2 separate regions of the Homo sapiens genome follow, and region 1 is linked to region 2. The links are contacts of gene promoters, found by promoter capture Hi-C in human tissues and cell types (Jung and others, 2019). All regions are on one chromosome and are shown on one strand. Each heading gives the region's core, a stretch centred on a gene start or on the middle of the fragment in contact. The rest is flanking DNA. Distances are from core to core; before and after follow the strand shown.

Region 1 (6,483 bases), core at 3,709-6,208, 120 kb after region 2:
CCCAGGGGTGTGGCTGGCGGCAGCGTAGGTCTTCGGGGCTGCGGACTCCCGGCCCCCGGGACCCCCCTGTCCCGCTGTGGAAACTGGCACGGGGACCGGAGGGCGGATCCCCCGGGCACTTGCCGAGGCCACTGACCCAGGTCTGGATGTTCCCCGAGGCCCAAGGTCACCACTGGGCCCCCCCGGGGACTGACGAGAGGCCTCTGGCGGGAAAAGGGGCTGGCTCAGGCAGGCAGCAGGCCCCAGAACCCCCCGCACACGCGGGCACAGGAAGCCCCAGCAATGCCCCTCCCTCCAATTTCTCAACCCGTGATGGGAAAAGAAGAGAAAAGGAAGAAAGATTTCCTCCAAAGCTTCACTGTGGCAGAATTCCGCTCTGAGGTCCTTACCCGCCTCCAGGCAGCCCTCCCTGCTCGCCGCTCACCACGGGCACAGGGCACAAATTGTGTCCTTCTTCTGCTCTAAACTCTGCTGTGGCTCCCCAGTGCCCTCAGGAGAAAAACCAAACTCCTCCCTGCGGCCCATGAAGCCCTCAGCAGGCTTGGCATCCCCTGCTCCAGCCACACCAGCTGCCCGAAGGACACACCAGGCTCCAGGTGGCCCCCAGCCCTTTGCATTGGCTGCTCCATGAGAAACCTGGCTCCTTCTCGCCCTTCTGAACTCAGCTCAAAGGACCCCTCCTCCAGGAAGCCCTCCTGCCTGCCCCCTTAGACATTTCCAAGACAGAGAGAGACAGAGAGACGGGGAGATAACCAGCTCTTTCAAGCTCACGTCCTGTAGGCTCCCCGAGGGTAGGCACCAGCTCTTTCTTTTTTTCTATTTTATTTTTATGCTATTTTCAGACACTCATGGACATGGACTTGGTGCCAGACACCCCTCCAAGTGGTTTACAGAGATGAAGTTTTTGGTGCCATAAACACCGGTTATGCGACATCCTGAGGTGGGGACTGAGGTAGTTCCCTTTCACCAGTGCCCAATCAATGCATGTGTATTTTATATGGATGCCAGTCACGCTGCGCCAGGCCCACTCGAACGACCTCGTCATAACTCGGTCACATCTGCCAAGGCCCTATTTTTTTTTTTTTTTTTTTGAGACGGAGTGTCGCTGTGTCGCCCAGGTTGGAGTGCGGTGGCGCGATCTCGGCTCACTGCAAGCGCCGCCTTCCGGGTTCACACCATTCTCCTGCCTCAGCCTCCCGAGTAGCTGGGACTACAGGCGCCTGCCGCCACCACGCCCGGCTAATTTTGTTTTTGTATTTTTCATAGAGACGGGGTTTCACCGTGTTAGCCAGGATGGTCTCGATCTTCTGACCTTGTGATCCGCCTGCCTCGGCCTCCCAAAGTGCTGGGATTACAGGCGTGAGCCACCGCGCCCGGCCGCAAAGGCCCTATTTCTAAATAAAGTCCCATTCACAAGTTTCAGGGGCCAGGATGTGAACAGATCTTCCAGGAGACACCAAGCAGCCTCAGTGTCCATTGATGGATCCGGGCCCTCCCTTCAAGCCTTTTCCCATCCCCCCTCCACCTCCTGCACCGAGACCCCAGCATGAAGCTTCCTCGGGCCTCACCGACCTCTGCTAAGTCCAGGAGACGCTGTGAGCACCCGAGGGTAGGGCCTGAGGCTCCCTGCCCCCACCTGGGCTGGCACCTGGGAGAGGAGGGTTCCCCTCAGCAGTTAGCTGTGGGCTGGCTGTGCGCCCCTTGCCAAGCTCCTGGGACACGGGCTGAGCAGAGCCCAGGGTGCCCCAGCCCCTTCCCGAGTCCCTGCTGGGCCCGTGTCGCCCACTGATGGGGAGATGCCCAAGTTCTGTGACCCCGGGGGCAGGATGGTGAGGCGGCCCCTGGGGACCCAGAGTCCTGCCCTGCCAGGGCCTCCTGCACCCTCAACCCCAAACCCAGAAAAGTCAGGCGGAGCCCAAGGCCAGAGCAGGCCAGTCACAGCTGGGAGGCGGGGGGCCCAGGGGCCAGGAAGGCCGGGATGGAGCCCTCGGCCCATCGCCCTGCACAGCCGCCCCTGCGCTGCCTCTGTCTCCCCATGTCTCTCTGTCTCTCTCCGACTTGCTGTATCTCTGTATCCCTCTGTCTCTCTGTGTCTCTTTCTCTGTCTCTGTCCGACTCGATCTATCTCTGTCTCCCTCTGTCTCTCTGTCTCTTTCTCTGTCTCCTTCCCTCTCTGTCTCTGTTTATCTCTATTTCTGTCTCTCCCTCTCTCTGTTTCCCTCTGTCTCTGTCTTTGTCTCTCTGTTTTTGTCTGTCTCCCCCATCTCTGTCTCTCTGTCTCCCTCTGTCTCTGTCTCTCTGTCTCTGTCTCCTTCTGTCTCTGTCACTGTCTCTCCGTCTCTTCCTCCCTCCATCTCTGACTCTGTCTGCCTGCGTCTGTCTCTCTCTGTCTCCCTTTGTCTCTCTGTCTCTGACTGTCTCTGTCTCTCTGTCTCTGTCCCTCTGATGTCTGACCCAGGTGGGCAGTACCTGTGGTGGTTCTGCTGTCCCTGAAGGAATGACATGTTCTCGCTCTGCCTGAGAGACCTCCTTTGCCTCCTCTGGAGGGTCTGAGAAGACAGGAGGGCGCTGGGCCCACCACAGGGGCAGATGACCTACGCATCACCCTGCCCACCCCAGGGCATAGCTGCCACCAAAGGGCTGGGGGCTGCCAGCCGCGGTGCTCTGGCAGGGACAGGTCTTCCCCTGGCGCCCCCAGGGAAGAACAGGCAACCCATCCACCTGCCTCCTGCCACTTGCCTCCCACCCCTTCCAGCCAGCGGGTGAGGGGGCTTCCCGTGCCACTGGGCGGGCTGCAGGCATCCTTGGGTGCCACCCAAGCTCAGCCAGATTCCAGGAACCCCCTCCCGCCCCCTTCACCCCTCCTTTCCCCGGGATTTCTCGTAGCGGGGACAGGGCCACACGTCACTCCACACAGACCACCCCTCCCGATGCTGGAGCCCACAGCGGGAAAGTCGCCTCCCCACGGGTCTGAACGGAAAACTGGGGAGCCCTGGACACAGATTCACCCTCTCCTCACGCCCAATCTGCCCTCCAACGCCAGTGGTATGGGGGTGAGACGGCCGTCTGCAGGACCATGCGAACAGGGACAGGGACAGGGACCACCTGCGGAAAGCCTCCCTCACATGGGCGAGCCCCCGTGTGCAGCTGCCATGCTGCCTGACAATAGCTGCCACCACAGAGTCCCCATCACCGCCGCCTTTGCCGACGGAGAAACAGAGTCACAGGGTGGCAGGGTCACCTCCAGAAGTGGCAGGGCCAGCTGGGAGACACAGGGTCATGCCTGGAAGCTGTTTCCATGTGTCATGCTCCAAACACCAGGCCCTGCTGGGGAACACGCCCTCTGCTTCTGGCCTTGGTGGGACCTGCCCAGCCTCTGCTTGGCCTTCTGTGAGGGTCAAAGGCCCAAATCCAGGGCCACTGGAAGAGTTGGCAAGAACAGCATTCCCTACACACTCAGAAACGTCTGAAACAGCCCAAATGTCCATCAACACAAGAATGGGCAAACACGGCATGGCCCTCTGCCCACTGGAACACGACTGAGCCGTGAAAAGGAGCGAGGCTCTGACCCAGGCCACAGCGCAGATGCATCCTGAGGACGCCACACTCAGTGAGAGACGCCAGACACAGAAGGCCACAGGTGTGCAATCCCATTTCTATGAAATGTCCAGGGCAGGCAGATCCACAGAGACAGGGAGGGGAAGTGTGGGTGCCAGGGCTGGGGAGGGAACGGGGTTTCCTTTTGGAATGATGGAAATGTTCTAAAGTTGATTGGGTTGATGGACACACAGCTTTATGAAGACAATAAAAGAAATCAAGGCAGGGCACGGTGGCTCACACCTATAATCCCAGCACTTTGGGAGGCCGACCGAGGTGGGTGGATCACGAGGTCAGGAGATTGAGACCATCCTGGCTAACACCGTGAAACCCTGTCTCTAATTAAAAAAAAAAAAAAAAAAAATAGCCAGGCGTGGTGGAAGGCGCCTGTAGTCCCAGCTACTCAGGAGACTGAGGCAGGAGAATGGTGTGAACCCAGGAGACGGAGCTTGCAGTGAGCCGAGATCCTGCCACTGCACTCCAGCCTGGGCGACAGAGCGAGACTCTGTCTCAAAAAAAAAAAAAGAAAGAAAGAAATTGTATACTTTAGGCTGGGCGTGGTGGCTCTTGCCTGTAATCCTAGCACTTTGGGAGGCCGAGGCGGGTGGATCACCTGAGGTCAGGAATTTGAGACCAGCCTGGCTAACATGGTGAAACCCCATCTCTACTAAAAATACAAAGAAAAAAAAATTGTATACTTTAAATGAATGAACTGTATGCTATGTGAATAACTCAATAAAGCTGTTTTAGAAATTGCCTTCTTGGGCCGGGCGCAGTGGCTCACACCTGTAATCCCAGCACTTTGGGAGGCTGAGGCGGGCAGATCACCTGAGGTCAGGAATTTGAGACCAGCCTGGCCAACATGATGAAACCCTGTCTCTACCAAAAATACAAAAATTAGCTGGGCATGGTGGCAGGCACCTGTAATCCCAGCTACTGTGGAGGCTGAGGCAGGAGCGGTGGCTCACGCCTGTAATCCCAACATTTTGGGAGGCTGAGGTGGGAGGATCCCTTAAGCCCAGGAGTTCGAGACCAGTCTGGGCAATGTAGTGAGACCCTATCTCTACAAAAAAATGAAAAAATGAGATGGGAGGATCACTTGAGCCCAGGAGGTGGAGGCTGCAATGAGGTGATACAGAACCACTGAACTCCAGCTTGGGCAATGGGAGTGAGACCATGTCTCAAAAAAAAAAAATTGCCTTCCCTTCTGTCCCTTGTCACTTTTCCTTAGTGACATTGAAAGGTGTCATCTTCACCTTCCTCTGGAGCCACACGCAAAGAAGCCTTGTCTAGGAGTCTTGCTAAGTGGTAAGCCTGCCGTCTCTGGAGGTGTGTTAGTAGAGAAGACCGAGCCTTGGGTGGGGCTGTCTGCCCTGAGTGATGAATGGCCTCTGACTCTCAGGCCCAGCATCCAAAACCCCAAACTCAGCTGGGCGCAGTGGCTCGAGCCTGTAATCCCAGCACTTTGGGAGGCCAAGGTGGGTGGATCACTTGAGGTCAGGAGTTCGAGACCAGCCTGGCCAACATGGCAAAACCCCGTCTCTACTAAAATACAAAAAAAAAAAATTAGCTGGGTATGGTGACAGGTGCCTGTAATCCCAGCTACTCTACTTGGGAGGCTGAGGCAGGAGAATCGCTTGAACCTGGGAGGCAGAGGTGGCAGTGAGCAGGGATTGCGCCACTACATTCCAGCCTGGGTGACAGAGACTCCATCTCAAAAAAAAAACAAACAGGCCGGGCACGGTGGCTCATGCCTGTAATCCCGGCGCTTTGGGAGGCCGAGGCAGGCGGATCATCTGAGGTCGGGAGTTCGAGACCAGCCTGACTAACATGGAGAAACCCCATCTCTACTAAAAACACAAAATTAGCCGGGCATGGTGGCGCATGCCTATAATCCCAGCTACTCAGGAAGGCTGAGGCAGGAGAATAGCTTGAACCTGGGAGGCGGAGGTTGCAGTGAGCCGAGATCGCGCCACTGCACTCCAGCCTGGGCAACAAGAGCAAAACTCTTGTCTCAAAAAAAAAAAAAAAAAAAAAAAAAAAAAAAAAAAAACCCAAACTCCTGGCTGCTGGAATGATCCCCAACCCTCCTGGCTGAGCCGAGGCCCCGCGTGGGCGCCGTGCAGACAGCGTCCCAGTGGCCGGCCGGGCCAGAGCGCTGCATACACACACACGTGTGTTCACATGCACATGTACAACTGCTGGGGGATTTTCCCCCCTTCTTTTCTTTAAGAGGCCTGTCAGGGTCAAGGGGCGTCCTGCCACTGTATATTTCACGGTGCTTTCATCACGGCCGGCCGGCGGGGGGAGCCGCCCGGCCGGGCTCACAAAGGGCCCTCTAAGCCCTCCGCGTCCGCATTCTGTACGTGGGAGCCTGCCTCATTTCCTATTAACTTCAAAAGTCTCAATCCTATTACGGCGGGGGGCGGAGAAACAGCGGAATGGAAGAGGAGGCCTTTATTCCCCGGCCCGAACTGGGCAGAGGCCCCAGGGATCCTCATTAGGCAGGCAGTGTTCCCGAGGGTCTCAGGGGGTCTCTGACAGCGGCCCTCCCCACCCCACCAAGAGCCCGGAAACAGCGGTGGGGGCCCTGAGCCGCCCACAGTGGCCCTTCCCTCCCCGGCAGGAATGGCAGGTGGGAGGCGGGTCCGGCGGGCGCAGGTGCACGCTGCCAGGAGCTTCACTCACCGGAGCCTCTGGGCAGCGAGACCCGGGGCCTGACGTGGGTGTTAGCCCAAGGCCCCAGCCTTGGTTTCCTGCCCTGGAAAATCGGGGCGACCCCACTTCCCACTCTCCCAGCTCTCCCAGGCTCTTATCTGGGTAGAAGGAAGCACCTCCCACTCCTCGCTGAGCTGGGACCCTCTGGCCTCTTTGGGTTCTTCTGGT
Region 2 (7,289 bases), core at 1-2,500:
AGGCGGGAGGGTCGCTTGAGCCCAGGAGTTCAAGACCAACCTGGACGACACAGAGAAACGCTGTTTCCACAAATAATCAAAAATCAAGGTCGGGCGCGGTGTTCACGCCTGTAATCCCAGCACTTTGGGAGGCCGAGGCAGGTGGATCACCTGAGGTCAGGAGTTTGAGACCAGCCTGGGCAACACTGAAACTCGTCTCTACTAAAAATACAAAAATTAGCCGGACGTGGTGGGGGGGCCCTCTAATCCCAGCTACTCGAGAGGCTGAGGCAAGAGAATCGCTTGAACCCGGGAGTGGGAGGCTGCAGTGAGCTGGGACGGAGCCATTGCACTCCAGCCTGGGCGACAGGATGAGACTCCGCCTCAAAATAATCAAAAATTAAAAAATAAAAGCGCAAGCCAGATGCCCACCACCACCCTGCCTGGAAAGGACCCAGCGACCTCCACCGCCCTTAAAATCTAAGGAGTCTAACGCAGCCCCTTATTCTAAGTCACGTGGGCTACAGACAGGGGCTACACCTTCCAACTAAGCCGCGGAAAAGTGAACAACGGGGGGCAGGTTGCAAATAAGCAAAAACCTCAACGTCTCTGGACAGTTTTCTGGGCGCAAGACCACACTCAGTTCCAAACCCGCGCGGAGACCGTGCCCGCCCACCGCCGCAGAGGCGCTTGGACCCCCGCCCCGCCGCCCTCACCCGGACAAGCCCCACCGCTGGCCCAGCCCCTGCCCGCGACCCCCGCGGCCGCCCTTACTAGGACATGTCCAGCAGCTGGTCGAGGTCCACGCCGCGGTAGGTGAACTTGCGGAAGGTCCGCTTCTTCTTCTGCTCTACTTCTGCCTGTGCGGGCGCGGATCGGGCGTCAGCGGGATCCCGACACCCATCTCCCGGGGCCACCGGGCCCGAGGACACCGCGGAAGACGCGCGGCGCCGCCGGGGACAGAAGCCCGACAGGGACACACCGCTTCGACCCGTCCCCGGGGATCACTCGCGGCTCCGGGTTACGAGGACCCGGACATGAAGGCCCGGACAGGCCTTCCCAGCCCCGCGTCGTCCCGACACCCACCAAGTCCGCCCCTCGCCCCAACATCCAGCCGCCTGCAGGGTCGGGAGCAAGCCGCCGTAGCCGCGGGGACGAACTGCGGCCCCCGCGAGACGGTCAGAGGTTGGATGGAGCCGGATAGGCCCGGCAGAGACGCGCCAAATCGCAACACTCACCATCTTGCCGGATCCTCAGAAGAGATCGCTTTGGTCCGCGCCTGCGCAGTTATCGCGAGACTGCCGGCATGTCCCGCCCCCTCGGCCGTGCGCGCACACGCGCTTCCGCTTTCCCGGCGGCGAACACGCGCCCTCTGCCGTCTGGAGGGCAAAACACAGGCTGCAGGGATTAGAGCAGCCGCCGCCTGAGGTCTGCAGAGCCGCTTCCTCCACGGAGTGGGACTTTGGACAAGTCGCCGCCCCTGTCTGAGCCTCGGGTTCGTGCTCCGTCATCTACACGATGGCACCCACATCAACAAGTATTTATGGAGCGCCTACCGTTTGCTCGTAGGTGCGGTTTGGCGGTTCAGGTCCCACTGTGGGAGGAACACGAGAATTCATTACAGATACTGGAGCAGGGACAGGGCCTCGCTGAAAAGAACCATTCCGGCTTTAACAGATAAAATTTTGTATATAAAGTTAGTAAGGACAACACAGTGAGACTGCCTCTCTACAAAAAAATACAAAAATTTGTGTACACACGGACATAAAAGAATAAAAAGTACAAAAAATTCCCAGCTACTCGGGAGGCTGAGCCTTCAGCCCAGGAGGTCAAGGCTGCAGTGAGCCGTGATCGCGCCAACGGCACTCCAGCCTGGGCGACAGAGCAAGACCCTGCCTCAAAAATAAAGTTAGGAATATCACTGGGTTTGTTAAGATATGTAAATGTAATGTGAATAATGATAGCTCAAAGAGAAGGAGTAACTAGAACTATGTAGGAGTGACTTTTTTTTTTTTTTGAGACAGAGTTTCACTCTTGTTGCCCTGGCTGGAGTGCAGTGGTGTGATCTCGGCTCACTGCAACCTCTGCCTCCTGGGTTCAAGCGATTCTCCTGCCTCAGCCTCCCAAGTAGCTGGGATTACAGGCACCTGTTACCGTGCCCGGCTAATTTTGTATTTTTAGTAAAGACACGGTTTCTCCATGTTGGCCAGGCCATGTTGGTCTCGAACTCCTGACCTCAGGTGATCCACCCGCTTTGGCCTCCCAAAGTGCTGGGATTACAGGCGTGAGCCACCGCGCCTGGCCTAGGAGTGATGTTTCTGTATCTTACTGGAATTAAGTATAAAGTTGAAGGTGACTATTAACTATGGATGTGGCACCTGGCTGGGCGTGGTGGCTTATGCTTGTAATTCCAGCACTTTGGGAGGCCGAGGCGGGCGGATCACCTGAGGTCAAGAGTTCAAGACCAAGCTGACCAACCCTAACTCTACTAAAAATACAAAAAATTAGCCAGGCGTGGTGGTGGGTGCCTGTAATCCCAGCTCCTTGGGAGGCTGAGGCAGGAGAACCGCTTGAACCCGGGAGGCGGAGGTTGCAGTGAGCTGAGATCGCACCACTGCACTCCAGCCTGGGCGACAGAGACTCCTTCTCAAAAAAAAAAAAAAAAAAAAAAAAGAAAAAGAAAAAAAAAAAGCACAAAACCTCTGGGAACCCGAGCTTAGCTGTGGCACTGTCCAGGGAGCTGAGCTCTCCCCAGCCGTCCCCACAGTCCCAAGGGAAGCCAATTACACTGTACTCAGGGAGGGCTGAGTCTCCGTCCCGAGGAGCACAGGACCTATGTGTCGGGCCCGTCCATGTTACCCATTTTCCTGCAGCAGAGTGTCCTGGCTGGAAAGCTGATTTTGTGAGTGCTGCTCTTTGGCTGGGGGAGCTAATGTAACGGGAGGGGCTGACACTCAACACCATGATGACCTGTGGTGTGGATAGACAGCCGCCCCCGCCTGGCCCTCCTGGGAGCTGGGGCAGCAGCTCCTGAGGACATGGGAGAAGGCTCTGACGGCAGGGAATGGAGCTGGCTTCCTGGGCTGAGGCGTTGAGGGGTACTGTCTCAGTGAGGAAACTGCACTGCACAGGGATGTTGGGGGTACCCCTTCTCTTGGTTCTCTCCAAACTAAGTCAAACCTTCCCTGTCCCCAAAATATGAACTGGGGCGGGGGGGGGTGGTTCTGGCTGTCGCCTGAACAGTCTCACGCCTGGCACGCTGTAGGCTTCCAGTTTGGGACTTCATGGTCCTTTTTTTTTCTTGTTTTGTTTTTTGAGACGGAGTTTCGCTCTTGTTGCCCAGGCTGGAGTGCAATGGCGCAATCTCGGCTCACTGCAAGCTCCGCCTCCCAGGTTCAAGCGATTCTTCTGCCTCAGCCTCCCAAGTAGCTGGGATTACAGGCATGCACCACCACACCCGGTTAATTTTTGTATTTTTAGTAGAGACGGGGTTTCTCCATGTTGGTCAGGCTGGTCTCGAACTCCCGACCTCAGGTGATCCGCCCGCCTCGGCCTCCCAAAGTGCTGGGATTACAGTCGTGAGCCACCGCGCCCGGCCCTTTTTAAGTCTCGCCTTCCCTGCCACAGTGACAGAGTATCCCTTTCCAAAGATGCCCCTGTCCTAATCCCCAGAACCTGGGGATATGTCACCTTCCATGGCAAAAGATATGATTAAAGGTCTTGAGATGGGAAAAGCCTGGAGCCCACATTCCCCGAGAAAACTGGTGGTGGCCACATCCTCAAAGTCACAGCATCCCAAGACCCACTGAGGGATGGGCCCAGCTCGCCACTCAGCCTCTGCCCTGAAGCCCTCGGGGTTGCTGAGACCACCAAGAGCCAAGGGGAGGGCGAGGGCGCCTCCGTCGCGTTTCAGACCTTTCCTAGGCACTGGAAGGGTAGGCACAGGCCAAGACCAAGGAGGGAAAAAACGGACACAAAGTGGTTTCTAATCCAAACGCACTTCTCTTTATTCAAACCAGGGTCAAACTGGTCAATGGGAAACGCCCTGAAGCCACGTGCCTGGGGAGAAAGGCTTCCTACTCGGTTCGGTTCAGCGCTGCGTGGGATCCACGCGGCTGGCTGTGCGCAACCCCCACAGTTCACCTCAGACACTACCAAGCAGGTCAGTCGACAAAAGCAAGGAATTAAACAAAAAACAGAAATACACTCAGTAGATTTCTTCTAGAAGCTCCCAGAGTTTCTGGACCACCAAGTCCCAACCCCCAAAGCCAGGAGCGAGGGGACTAACAGCGCACCCCCTCCACCAGTGCCGACGGAAACCCCGTTTTAAATTAAAAAATAAGCCAGTATACATCGTAGAAAATTTCTCTTAAAAATCTCACAATTTGTAAATGTATATTTTTTCTTTAACATAAAAGTTTACAATATACCGTAAAACAAAAGGCTCAGGAAAATAATTTCCAAAAAAAAGGAAGAAAAAGAAACCTGAAGTTTTGAATTAAAGCTGAAGACATTTTTTTTAAACCCTGTTGTTGAACCAGTGACTTTTTTTTATTGTGCTGATGGGTTAGAGAAAGAAATATTTAAAAACCTCAGTCCAGACGACACCCACAGCCGCTCCAAAAGCCTCGCGCCCTCCCCCCGCCCCCCCCCCCAAGGTTGAGTCGCCACTTTGCCGCCAAGTTTGTGATTGTCACGAGTTCACAAGTTTGGAATCCTGGGTCTGGGCCGTGCAGACGTCGCGGCGCCGCGGGCTAGCGTCGGTAGGGGTGGAACCCTTGCACGTTGTGGTTCTGCCCTCGTCCAAAGCCGCTGCCGCCGGCGGGGGGGCCCCCCGACCCTGGCACGGAGGGACCCCCGTAGGAAGGAGGCTGCTGGCTGGGGTCTGAGAAGCCCTGTCCGAAGCCACTCAAGTCCTGCCCGTAACCTGCTGGGGGAGAAAGTCCTGTGAGCTCGGGGCGGTCCCTGGGCGGTTGGCACTGCCGTCGAGCGAGGCCACCTGGACACAGCTCCGCCGAGCCTGCCTTGAGTCCACGGGTCCCACGGGGTGCGGGTGGGGCCCTTCTGAGGCCAGCACCTGGGCCGGGGAGAGGACCCCGGGCATGTTCTCTCCCTCAAAAACATGTGAGCAGGGGCACACACAGAGAAAAGCGGCTTCCAGAGCCCTCCATGGCCCACGTAACCTCACCGCTTCCCTGTTCAATCCCGAAGACGTGGTTGGGGGGGTGAGGGGAGGTAGAGAAGCCTCGGGGCTTGGAGACACACATGGCCCAAGGCACGGTGGACCAGGCTTCTAGAAAGCTGGCTCTCGGAGTTTCAGAAAACCCCTGACGGGCCCTTGCAGCGATACAGGGCCTGCCCCTCCGTCGCAGACCAGACCCCACGTTGTCCTTCCTGTCAGGGCACGTCCATCGGTGGCACGTGTCAGGGAAGGGTTTCTGGGCCCAACCTGACTGCCCCAGTGACACCACTGGCTGAGGGGCCAGCACACCCTGCAGCCCGTCCGGCCCACACAGCCGACCTCAGGAGCATGGACAGCGGTGTCTTTACAAGGACAGAGCTGCTCACGCCGCTCCCCACCCCGCTGCACACCTTGCAGGAAGCCCCTCCCACGACCTCTGGGTTCCCATTCGGGTGCACGTGGGCACAGGTGGGCGTGGGCTCTCTCTGGGGGATCCTGGGCCCGCTGAAGGCTTGTGGCCAATGTCTTGGCACCGGCAAGGGCCCCTTCCCAGAGGGCACCGCCAGCGTCCACCCCCGCCCGGGACGGCAGAGGAAGCCACGTCCACCTCCCGGTGCAGGCGGGTGGGAGGACCCTGGAGAAGGAGGCGGCACCTACCTAGGCCACATCACTGCTCAGCCTGACCATAAGACTGTAAACAAAGTGTGGGCCGCAGCCCGGCGGGGCTGGAGAATAGGAACCCAGGCCTGGCAAGAGACGAGACCAGGGTGACCAACCCAAGCAGCCGCCACCAAGAGCAGCGGCTGACACACGCCACGCCCCAACCGGGCGCCTCACACCCCCCTGCCAGTCTCAGACACGCCAGGGTTTGGTGGTGAGTGGGTCAAGAACCCACACATGCGGCAACCTCGGCCCAAGGCCTGGGCGTGGGGGCAGGGGAACCACAGCCATGCGAGGTGGGTGGGCGGGCACCTCGGCCGAACACAGCTCCCACACCCCGGCCTCCACCAGGCCTAGAGGAAGCGTGTTCACAGGCACCCCGGAAGCCCGTGGCCACCTGCAGACAGGTGCCCCATGTTCTCAAACCCTGCTTGTGAATGACCCCTGGTGCTGGAGGAGCTGACCGTAGTTGGAGCCCTGCCCACTGAGGCCACCGCGTTGGTCCTGAGCAAGGCTGCTGTGACTCCTGGCTCAGTGCAGGGCGAGAACTACTGACATGCAGACCTTGACCCATGCTGACCCCGCCCCCCCACAAGCTCCTGCCCCGGAAGCACATGCGCTGCCTGCAGATCACGTCCAGGCAGACCCAAGCCACGACAGCCATCCAGTCCAGGGTGAAGCCCACGTCCAGGCCACGCCTACTACAGACCCAGCTTCTGCCCCAAGCGGGGTCTGGACCCAGCAGGAGGCTGATGACGCCAGAAACTGGAACCCACCAAGGGGCCAGTGCACCCGGGACCCACACCGAGGGCCTGAACCTCTAGACAGTGATCACAGCTGCCTGCGACTCACTTCCCTCGACCCAGTCGCCACTCAGGTTCCCACACATGCAGGCCCTGCAGCACCTGCTGTATGACGAGTGCTCTGCTGCGACAAGACTCCCACGCTCCCTTCTGCTGGACCCGAGTTGCCACGAGATCTCTCCAACAACCCCCACACCCCCCTCTCCTCCCTCTCCCCTTTCCCACCAGGTAAAGGCTGGGGAGCGTCCAGCAGGGGAGGAAGCAGAAGAAGGCAGGCCGTGCCCAGGGTCCTGGGGCCAGCGGGGACGCGGCATGGCAGGAGACCACTTACCATACTGACCATAGGGGAAGTCTGGCTGAGCTGTCGGGGGCTTGCTCATGTCCGGGGCAGCCTGAGACGGAGGCGGTGGGAAAGCCAGAGGTGCTGCCCCGGGAGTGGCTGGTGGAGGAGGAACCCCCGGAGGGGCAAACTGATCTGGCGGTGGAGGTGGAGGCCCGTAGCCAAAACCTGCAGAGGTACAAGAGGGCAAGGCACAAGACACGTTGTGCAGCTGGGGGCAGACCAGCAGGAGACCCACACCCAGCCCAGCAGGAGCTGCCCAGACGGGACTGCCACCCAAACCCACAGAACGCCCAGGCCTTGTGGACATCCACAGAATGGACCA

The links. The method cuts DNA at HindIII sites, captures the fragments that hold promoters and counts their contacts. A contact is called where the count stands out against the background at its distance.
Region 1: a contact is called between a fragment that was not itself captured here and the fragment with the promoter of RPS15 in region 2, in 2 of the 25 tissues and cell types used here (dorsolateral prefrontal cortex and small bowel).

What each region holds. Positions count from the first base shown.
Region 1 is chr19:1,318,613-1,325,095 of GRCh38, reverse strand. No RefSeq gene overlaps it. Among named protein-coding and RNA genes, the nearest start is that of PWWP3A, 33 kb to the left of the region's middle. RefSeq lists enhancers at 1-80, 81-594. The HindIII fragment of the contact is 8,009 bases long and covers 954-6,483 here.
Region 2 is chr19:1,432,357-1,439,645 of GRCh38, reverse strand. It overlaps RPS15 (ribosomal protein S15), which reads right to left and starts at 1,250. Exons shown (of 4, transcript NM_001018.5): 1 at 1,218-1,250; 2 at 754-839. The coding sequence starts at 1,220. DAZAP1 (DAZ associated protein 1) reads right to left here. Exons shown (of 12, transcript NM_018959.4): 11 at 6,956-7,132; 12 at 3,962-4,909. The coding sequence ends at 4,734. RefSeq lists enhancers at 1,007-1,226, 635-1,505, 4,882-5,385. The HindIII fragment of the contact is 20,902 bases long and covers 1-7,289 here.